2 separate regions of the Homo sapiens genome follow, and region 2 is linked to region 1. Evidence: promoter capture Hi-C in human tissues and cell types (Jung and others, 2019). All regions are on one chromosome and are shown on one strand. The core of a region is centred on a gene start or on the middle of the fragment in contact, and the rest is flanking DNA. Distances in the headings are between cores, read along the strand shown. Region 1 holds the start of IL32 (interleukin 32). Region 2 holds the start of ZNF597 (zinc finger protein 597).

Region 1 (3,344 bases), core at 1-2,500:
AGTAGCTGGGAATACAGGTGCCGGCCACCACGCAAGGCTAATTTTTGTATTTTTAGTAGAGACAAGGTTTCACCATGTTGGCCAGGCTGGTCTAGAACTCCTGACCTTAGGTGATCTGCCCGCCTCGGCCTCCCAAAGTGTTGGGATTACAGGCGTGACCCACTGCGCCCGGCCTAGGGTGGACCCTATTTCAATATGACTGGTGTCCTTTGGAAAGGGGAAAGGGGGACAGTCACACCCAGGCAGAACGTGATGAAGATGAAGATGGCCATCTACAAGGGCAGGAGAAACCTGAACAGAATCCCAGCTCCGGGCCCTCAGAAGGACCCCACGCTGCCCACATTGACCTTGGACCTCCAGCCTGCAGATCGTGAGGGAAGAGACGTCTTCGACTTAGGGCCCCTTGTCGTGGTACTTCCTTAGTTTGGCCCCAGGAAACCATCCCAAAGGCAAGGGCGTGGTTGTGCTCAGCTGGGGGAAGGGGGCTGGGGGCCGTGAGGAGGAGGTGGGAGGCCCAGCCAGGCTGGAGGGTCAGAACCCGTGGAGCTAGAAGAGCCCGTAGGGGAGCCCCAAGATTGCTGAGACCAGTGACCTTCGGCCCCAGATGGCCTTGCCTTGGCCCAGAAGGGTCAGAAGGACCTGGTCAGCCAAGCTCAGACAGCCGGCAGGATGCCTTCCACCCTGCAGAGGGTCCTATCTTGTCCCACAGGTAGATCTACATCACCACTAGCCACCCCTCCAACGTGCACAGGCCCCTGCCCTCACGGCGCCCCTCTTAGGTCCGGCAGTTCCTGCCTCCTTCTGATCCAGAAGTTTCTCTGGCCTCTGGAGCCGGGGCACACCTCATGCAAGGACAGGGTCCAAATTCCTTTGTCCTTGGATCCCACTTGGCTGACGTCACCTTCCTGTACTCAGGGAGTTTCCCCAGCCAGCTGTCCCGAGTCTGGACTTTCCCTCTGCCCCTCCCCACTCTCAGGCTGGTGGGGTGGGGAAAGCAGCCCATTCCTGGGCTCAGAGACTCCCACCCCAGCTCAGAGGGAGCAGGGGCCCAGCCAGGGACGGACCCTCATTCCTCCCAGGGACCCCAGACCTCTGTCTCTCTCGGGTAAGTCTCCATCTCTGTCTGTCTCTGTCTCTGTCTCTGTCTCTGTCTGTTTTTCACGCACTCAGCAAGGCCTCCTGCCCTGAGAGAGGCTCCGCCCACTACCCCCCACTTTCCCCATAAAACCAGCTGAGTATTTGTGCCAGGAAGACTGCGTGCAGAAGGTGACTGTCTCAGTGGAGCTGGGTCATCTCAGGTGGGGAGTTGGGGTCCCCGAAGGTGAGGACCCTCTGGGGAGGAGGGTGCTTCTCTGAGACACTTTCTTTTCCTCACACCTGTTCCTCGCCAGCAGGCCTTGGCTCCTTGAACTTTTGGCCGCCATGTGCTTCCCGAAGGTGAGTGAGAGGCTGCGTGTGCTTTTGTGGGCATGTCTGAAAACAGACCGTAAGGGTGCGGGTGCCCTCAGTATTTCCCGAGGTGCCTGTGTGTCAGGGCTCAGTCAGGGGCACCCAGCGGCAGGAGGATAGTGATGGGGTGAGAGTGTCAGTGGAGGCGCTGGAGGTCATATGTGTCGGGGGCGCTGGAGAACGGCAGGGGTGTGGATGAGAGGGAGCACCTGTCCCAGGAGCCCTTCACAGCCCGGAAAGCCCGGGGCAGGGGTGGGGCAGGGCTCTGCTGGAAACGACTCGGAGAATGCTTCTCTCAGAGGCCGGCTCAGCTGGGTGGGCCCAAGAGCAAGGCCTGTGTGGGTCCTGGTGTCTCTTCCTCCTTTCCTGGGTTCCCTCCGACCTCCCATCCTCTACCACTGCCCCACCGCAAATGCTAGGCCCACCACACCCTCCAGGGAGCTCTTCGGCCTGTGACAATAGGGGTTTCCATGATGTGGCCTGGCTCAGGTTCAGGACAGTGACCCGGAGGACACATGGCTCCCGCATGTCGGCACGGTGCTGCTTTCACCCTGGTTCCTGGGAAATCAGGCTAGCGGGATGGGACCATCGCTGCCTGAAAGTGTGCAGACAGCTGCCCTGCCCAGAATATGTCCCCAGGCCCTGCGCACTCTGTGGGTGACTGTCACCACTCTATAGTGGGGGAAACCAGGCATGTCACCCCCGAGACTAGGCCCTTGACGTGGGGGCTCAGCGGGGATTCTGTGGGGTGCCTCTGGCCTCTGTGGATGCAGCCACGTGTCTGCAGGCAGGAATGGCCCGGGACCTGTGGGTCTGCATGTTGGCAGTCGGGAAGAGTGGCAGGTTGTAGGGTGGACCTACCTGGCACCCCAAATATTAATCAGCTCATCAGAGAGGAATGGCTGCTGTTACCTTCTCAATTGTCATGTCCCTAAACATTTTTTCCTTGGCCAACTCTCACCTGGGACCATAGTGGTTGTGGGAAACCCAGCTGAGCCAGCCTGCTCCAGGACAGTGTCCATCCTCCCGTGTGTGTACATGGGGGGGTGTGTGTGTGCAGGGAGGACACCCCGGCCCACGCAGGCCCTGCTCTTGTGAGGAGGGGTCACCTAGGCCCACGCAGGCCCTGCTCTTGTGAGGAGGGGTCACCTAGGCCCACGCAGGCCCTGCTCTTGTGAGGAGGGGTCACCTAGGCCCACGCAGGCCCTGCTCTTGTGAGGAGGGGTCACCTAGGCCCACGCAGGCCCTGCTCTTGTGAGGAGGGGTCACCTAGGCCCATGCTGGCCCTGCTCTTGGGCCTGCCCAGCTGAGCCGGCTCCTGAGAGAAGCGCTTTCTGAGTCGTTTCGAGGACAGCCCTGGCCGGTCTTTCCAGGCTGTGAGGGGCTCCTGGGACTGCTGTCTCCTCTTATCCTGTACCTCTGCCATGTGTCTCTGTGTGTGTGTGTGTGTGTGTGTGTGTGTGTGTGTGTGTATAAATTATCCTGGAGGAAAGGTTAAGGTGACACATGGAGACTGAGTGTCACCGTTATTTCCGCAGGTCCTCTCTGATGACATGAAGAAGCTGAAGGCCCGAATGGTAATGCTCCTCCCTACTTCTGCTCAGGGGTTGGGGGCCTGGGTCTCAGCGTGTGACACTGAGGACACTGTGGGACACCTGGGACCCTGGAGGGACAAGGATCCGGCCCTTTGGTGCCAACTCTGCCTCTCTTCACAGCACCAGGCCATAGAAAGATTTTATGATAAAATGCAAAATGCAGAATCAGGACGTGGACAGGTGGGTGGATTTCCCCTCAGGCACCAGGTCACATGTCCCCGCCCCCAGGCACTCCACCCTGTGTGGGGCTCAGGGTGAGAAGGATGAAGAGGGACCCACAGGCTCCCTCACCCCTTACCG
Region 2 (4,336 bases), core at 344-2,843, 380 kb after region 1:
CAGAGATTGCAGTGAGCCGAGATCGCGCCATTGCACTCCAGCCTAGGCGTCGCAGCGAGACTGTCTCAAAAAAAAAAAAAAAAAGAAAAGAAAAGGAGAAAGTTGGGCAGCCCAGGAAGAATCATAAAGAGATAAAGGTTACAGGATTCTCCCAACATCCTTCCCTTTGCTATTTCCTCTCGTCCCCATGACACTCATTGCTAAGCTCACTCCAGCACTTCATCCAGGCCTACCCCACCTTCTCTAACGGTGTGATAAATTAATCACTTGGGATTTATTATTACTCAACGAGTGTGGAGTCTAGAAATGTGCTTAATTTAAAAATTCATTCAAATTGGAGAAGTACCAAATCTGTAATTTTGGGAACCATTCCAGAAAGTCACTTTTAATCCTAGCACTTTGGGGAGCCGAGGTGGGAGGATAGCTGAAGGCCAGGAGTTCCTTGGCAAAGCAGCAAGACTCCATCTCCATAAAGAAGTTTTAGGCCGGGCGCAGTGGCTCACACCTGTAATTCCAGCACTTTGGGAGACCGAGGCGGGCGGATCACAAGGTCAGGAGATTGAGACCATCCTGGCTAACACGGTGAAACCCCGTCTCTACTAAAAATACAAAAAATTAGCAGGGCGTGGCGGCAGGCGCCTGTAGTCCCATCTACTCGGGAGGCTGAGGCAGGAGAATGGCATGAACCCGGGAGGCGGAGCTTGCAGTGAGCCGAGATCGCGCCACTGCACTCCAGCCTGGGCGACAGAGCGAGACTCTGTATCAAAAAAAAAAAAAAAAGAACTTTTAAAAGTAGCCAGACACTGTGGTATGCGCGCCTCTCAGATACTCGAGAGGCTGAGGCGTAAGGATTCCCTGAGTTCCAGACGGAGCTATGATATCAGCACTGCACTCCAGCCAGACAAGCAACACTCCAGCGACAAGGCCAGACCCTATCTCCAAACAAAACAAAACAAACAGATAAGACATTGAGAAACTCTCTCAGAGATTCCTCCACAGGTCCCTGCTCCCAGTTGGTAGTTCTGAAAGAAGGAAGTTGGTAAACCATTATGTGTGTGGTCTTGGAACGAAGAACACTTGGTCAAAGGGCTATTTGGGGCTCAGGAGCACTCCTACCACAACAGGCATGCCCAACTCTCCTCCAAAGGAGGGGGTCAGGCAGAGACCGAAAGCAGCAATAAACTTGGACGAAAAAGGTACCTCGACTCACCTGGGCCTCGGGCGTCGGGGGCATGGACGCCATTTGGCGGGTGGGGAATGCCTTCTTCAAGACGCCACAGGGACTTCGTGACAAAGCTGCGGGGGGAGAGAACAGTTCTTAAAGGGACCAATTCCGCTGCCAAGTTCCTCCACTACCCCTAGCCTCCCTCGATTCCCTCCGAACCCCCCCTTAAAAACCTACGCCGACTGCTCCTCCTCTTGGCCCGGCCTCGAAAGGGGCCCACTTACCGCTCCGCGGTTAATAACAGGCCTCGCGCTCCCTGACAGGAGCTGCAGAAAGCGACGCCCGACCGAGACGCGACGAAGAACGCCACGGCCACTGCAAAACTCCCACGCTCTCATGCTCCTTTACGCAGGAGCTGCGGGAAAAGCCGCCGGAAGCGACCCGCCCTCAGCCCTCTCCGCCATCCTGCCCTTTGATTGGTCGAAGTTCTCCCGAAGGGGAAGTCCTTCTTTTGTGTTGACCAATTGAACACCTTAACCGAGGACCTGTAGCCACTGGGCAGCTGCGAGAGGTAGTTTTCCTCCTTTTCTCTAAGCAACCATTTCCGCTTCCGCTGGCGGGGTCTCCTCCGTGAGCTCCGGGCCTGTTTGCCTGCTGAAGTAGAGTCTTAGGGTGACCCCAGGGGGACGTAATGTTTCCGAGAAGAAGGACAGAAAGAAGACTGGGAGACACCGGAACTCGAAAGAAAATCGGTAACAAAATGTGGGTTCGGCCAACAGTGCCCTGTAGGCCTGAAATTTCGGTCTGGCCAGAGCAAGGTGATTGAGAGGGCGGGGGTTCGGGCCTAGCCTGGGCTTGAGCTGTCCTTTGTGTCTTGAGCGGATGGTGGGGCCGTGGAACATGAAGGAGTATCTTTGTGTACGTTCACAACGTTCACATCGGTGTAGGCCAGGTTGCTGGACTCTGACTCAAAGTGTTATAGAGGCATTACGTATTGTACCCGCAGCTGCAGCCTAAGCGAGCTGCTTCAGCTTCCTAGTCACAGGATCCCACGCGAGAATAGAGCCATAGGTTAGCGTCGCAGGACGTTGTTCGCCCCCGGATACCTCACATGCAGCCTACCCTAGAGCCAGTCATTTCCTATTGTGTGCTGGGGGAGGAGGGAGTGCCCTGGTGTAGGCATTTGGAATTGGAAAATTGAGCTCCTCCCCAAGCTCTGCCACTGATTGGTTGGTAATCTTGGCCAGTTTACAACTTTGCTTTCCTCAGCTGCAAACAGCTCAGAGTGCCTCTCTGGGCTAACTCAGAGGGTAATTTCAAAGATTATAAGATAATGTAAGTGAAAGAAATTGCCAGTTTATAAAGGTGTTTGGGGAAAAAAAAAGACGAAAATGATAGGTACCTTGATAGAAAAGCCTGAAAAGTCTCAACATATTTCCTTATTCCAGTGCCAGGCACATTCCTGTATCTAAAAGCTTAATGAATGGCTGCATGGTTATTAAAACAATATTAGGAGATTTGACAACTTAGGTAATGTGATTTTGTGGAATATCTGATAGGATAGTTTCAGCTACAAGTAACAGAAAACCCACCGAAAGGATGTTCAAAGAGCAGTTACAGGTTGGTTAATTCGGTGGCCCAGTGACAACATCAAGGTCCCAGTGCTTCTCTGCCACCCTAAGCATGTTGGTAACGTTGACAATAGAATCCAGGTAAAATATACAGACATGTATTGTGTCATGTACCCATCCTAAACTAGTTATTACCAAGAATAAATAATTGTTTGGGGCCCATCATGCTTCAGCCCCTGTCACTAGGGGAAGGACCTAGCCTCCCTTGATAATCTACCTGCACAAAATTAGGGCTTTGTTACAAATGAAAAAAAGAGATGTGGAAAATAAGTTAGATAAGAAACTAGCAGTATCTGCCACAAATGATATCTCTTGACAGCTAACTAAGAGCTAGACCTTGTGGGGATGGATCACAAAAGAGGTAGCTGTGAAGTCCCAGTAAAGGTGCTTCCAGGACAGGTGGAAGAATGGTAAGAACAAACTTGCCTACAGGCTAGACCAGTCCAAAGCATATATGTTGAAGAAGAGCTAATAGCCTGTATATGAAGGTGTAAGTAAAGGAGATGTTCATGGTTGAGTCACTGTGGTGTTCACGTAGTCATCTTTCCCTTCTTGGTTTGTGCTTATCTCTTTTTTTTTTTTTTTTTTGAGACAGTCTCACTCTGTAGCCAGACTGGGGTGCAGTGGCACAATCCTGACTCACTGCAACCTCTGCCTCCGGGGTTCAAATGATTCTCCTGCCTAAGCCTCCTGAGTAGCTGGGACTACAGGTGCCCGCCACCACGTCCGGCTAATTTTTTTTTTTTGTATTTTTAGTAGAGATGGGGTTTCATCATGTTGGCCAGGATGGTCTCGATCTCGTGACCTCATGATCCACCTCGGCTTCCCAAAGTGCTGGGATTACAAGCGTGAGCCACCGCGCCCCGCCTATTTAATGCTATTCTTACATCAGCACTGTCTCATTGTGGTCTGAGATTCTCCTTATCTGGATTTGTGGCTCTTTCACCAAGAACAAGAGACTCCCGTGGCTCTCTTCTTTAAATCCTGTTGCCATAATTACAAAGAAATAAACACAGTTTCCAATGCTTTGAAATGAAGCATGTGGTATTAACTCAGTGGATTACCAGAGAGAGAGGGATATACCTGAAATGGGAGAGGAAAAAATCTTCCCTAGACTATCTTTCCTAAGAGCCATCAAAACTATAAACAAGTGGACAAAGAAGGAGGAAGCTTGAAAGCTTTATCTTCCTGAAAATAAAGAGATGACATACAAAGTCCAAGATAGACCAAGATTGAAAAATTAGACCACATTATATCCCTAACTCAATTTTGTAAAAAATCACAAATGCTTGACTGTATACCCACTATATGTTCAAGTAACATGTTTTAATCATCAAAATTTAAAAATCCTTCCACGACAATCTTTTGCAAGTTTTTCCATTTCTGTCTTTAACATGGTACCAGTAATAACAACTACAACCTGTTTGTATTGAAATTATTTCTATAGCCCAGCATCTGCTTTCTCTGAAAATTATCTTTTTAAAAATAGTAAAACTAACATCATTACAAAAGTAGTATATGTGCATTTCAGAAAGTTAGG

Evidence for each region. Contacts are between HindIII fragments. The study calls those that stand out against the background at their distance.
Region 2: the fragment with the promoter of ZNF597 here is called in contact with the fragment with the promoter of IL32 in region 1 in 3 of the 25 tissues and cell types used here (IMR-90 fibroblasts, heart left ventricle and pancreas).

What each region holds. Positions count from the first base shown.
Region 1 is chr16:3,064,390-3,067,733 of GRCh38, forward strand. It overlaps IL32 (interleukin 32), which reads left to right and starts at 1,251. Exons shown (of 7, transcript NM_001376923.1): 1 at 1,251-1,298; 2 at 1,395-1,437; 3 at 2,988-3,026; 4 at 3,165-3,224. The coding sequence starts at 1,423. RefSeq lists an enhancer at 745-1,054. The HindIII fragment of the contact is 16,762 bases long and covers 1-3,344 here.
Region 2 is chr16:3,441,911-3,446,246 of GRCh38, forward strand. ZNF597 (zinc finger protein 597) reads right to left here and starts at 1,594. Exons shown (of 4, transcript NM_152457.3): 1 at 1,450-1,594; 2 at 1,211-1,296. The coding sequence starts at 1,243. It overlaps NAA60 (N-alpha-acetyltransferase 60, NatF catalytic subunit), which reads left to right and starts at 1,770. Exons shown (of 8, transcript NM_001083601.3): 1 at 1,770-1,927. RefSeq lists an enhancer at 1,854-2,003. The HindIII fragment of the contact is 11,416 bases long and covers 1-3,303 here.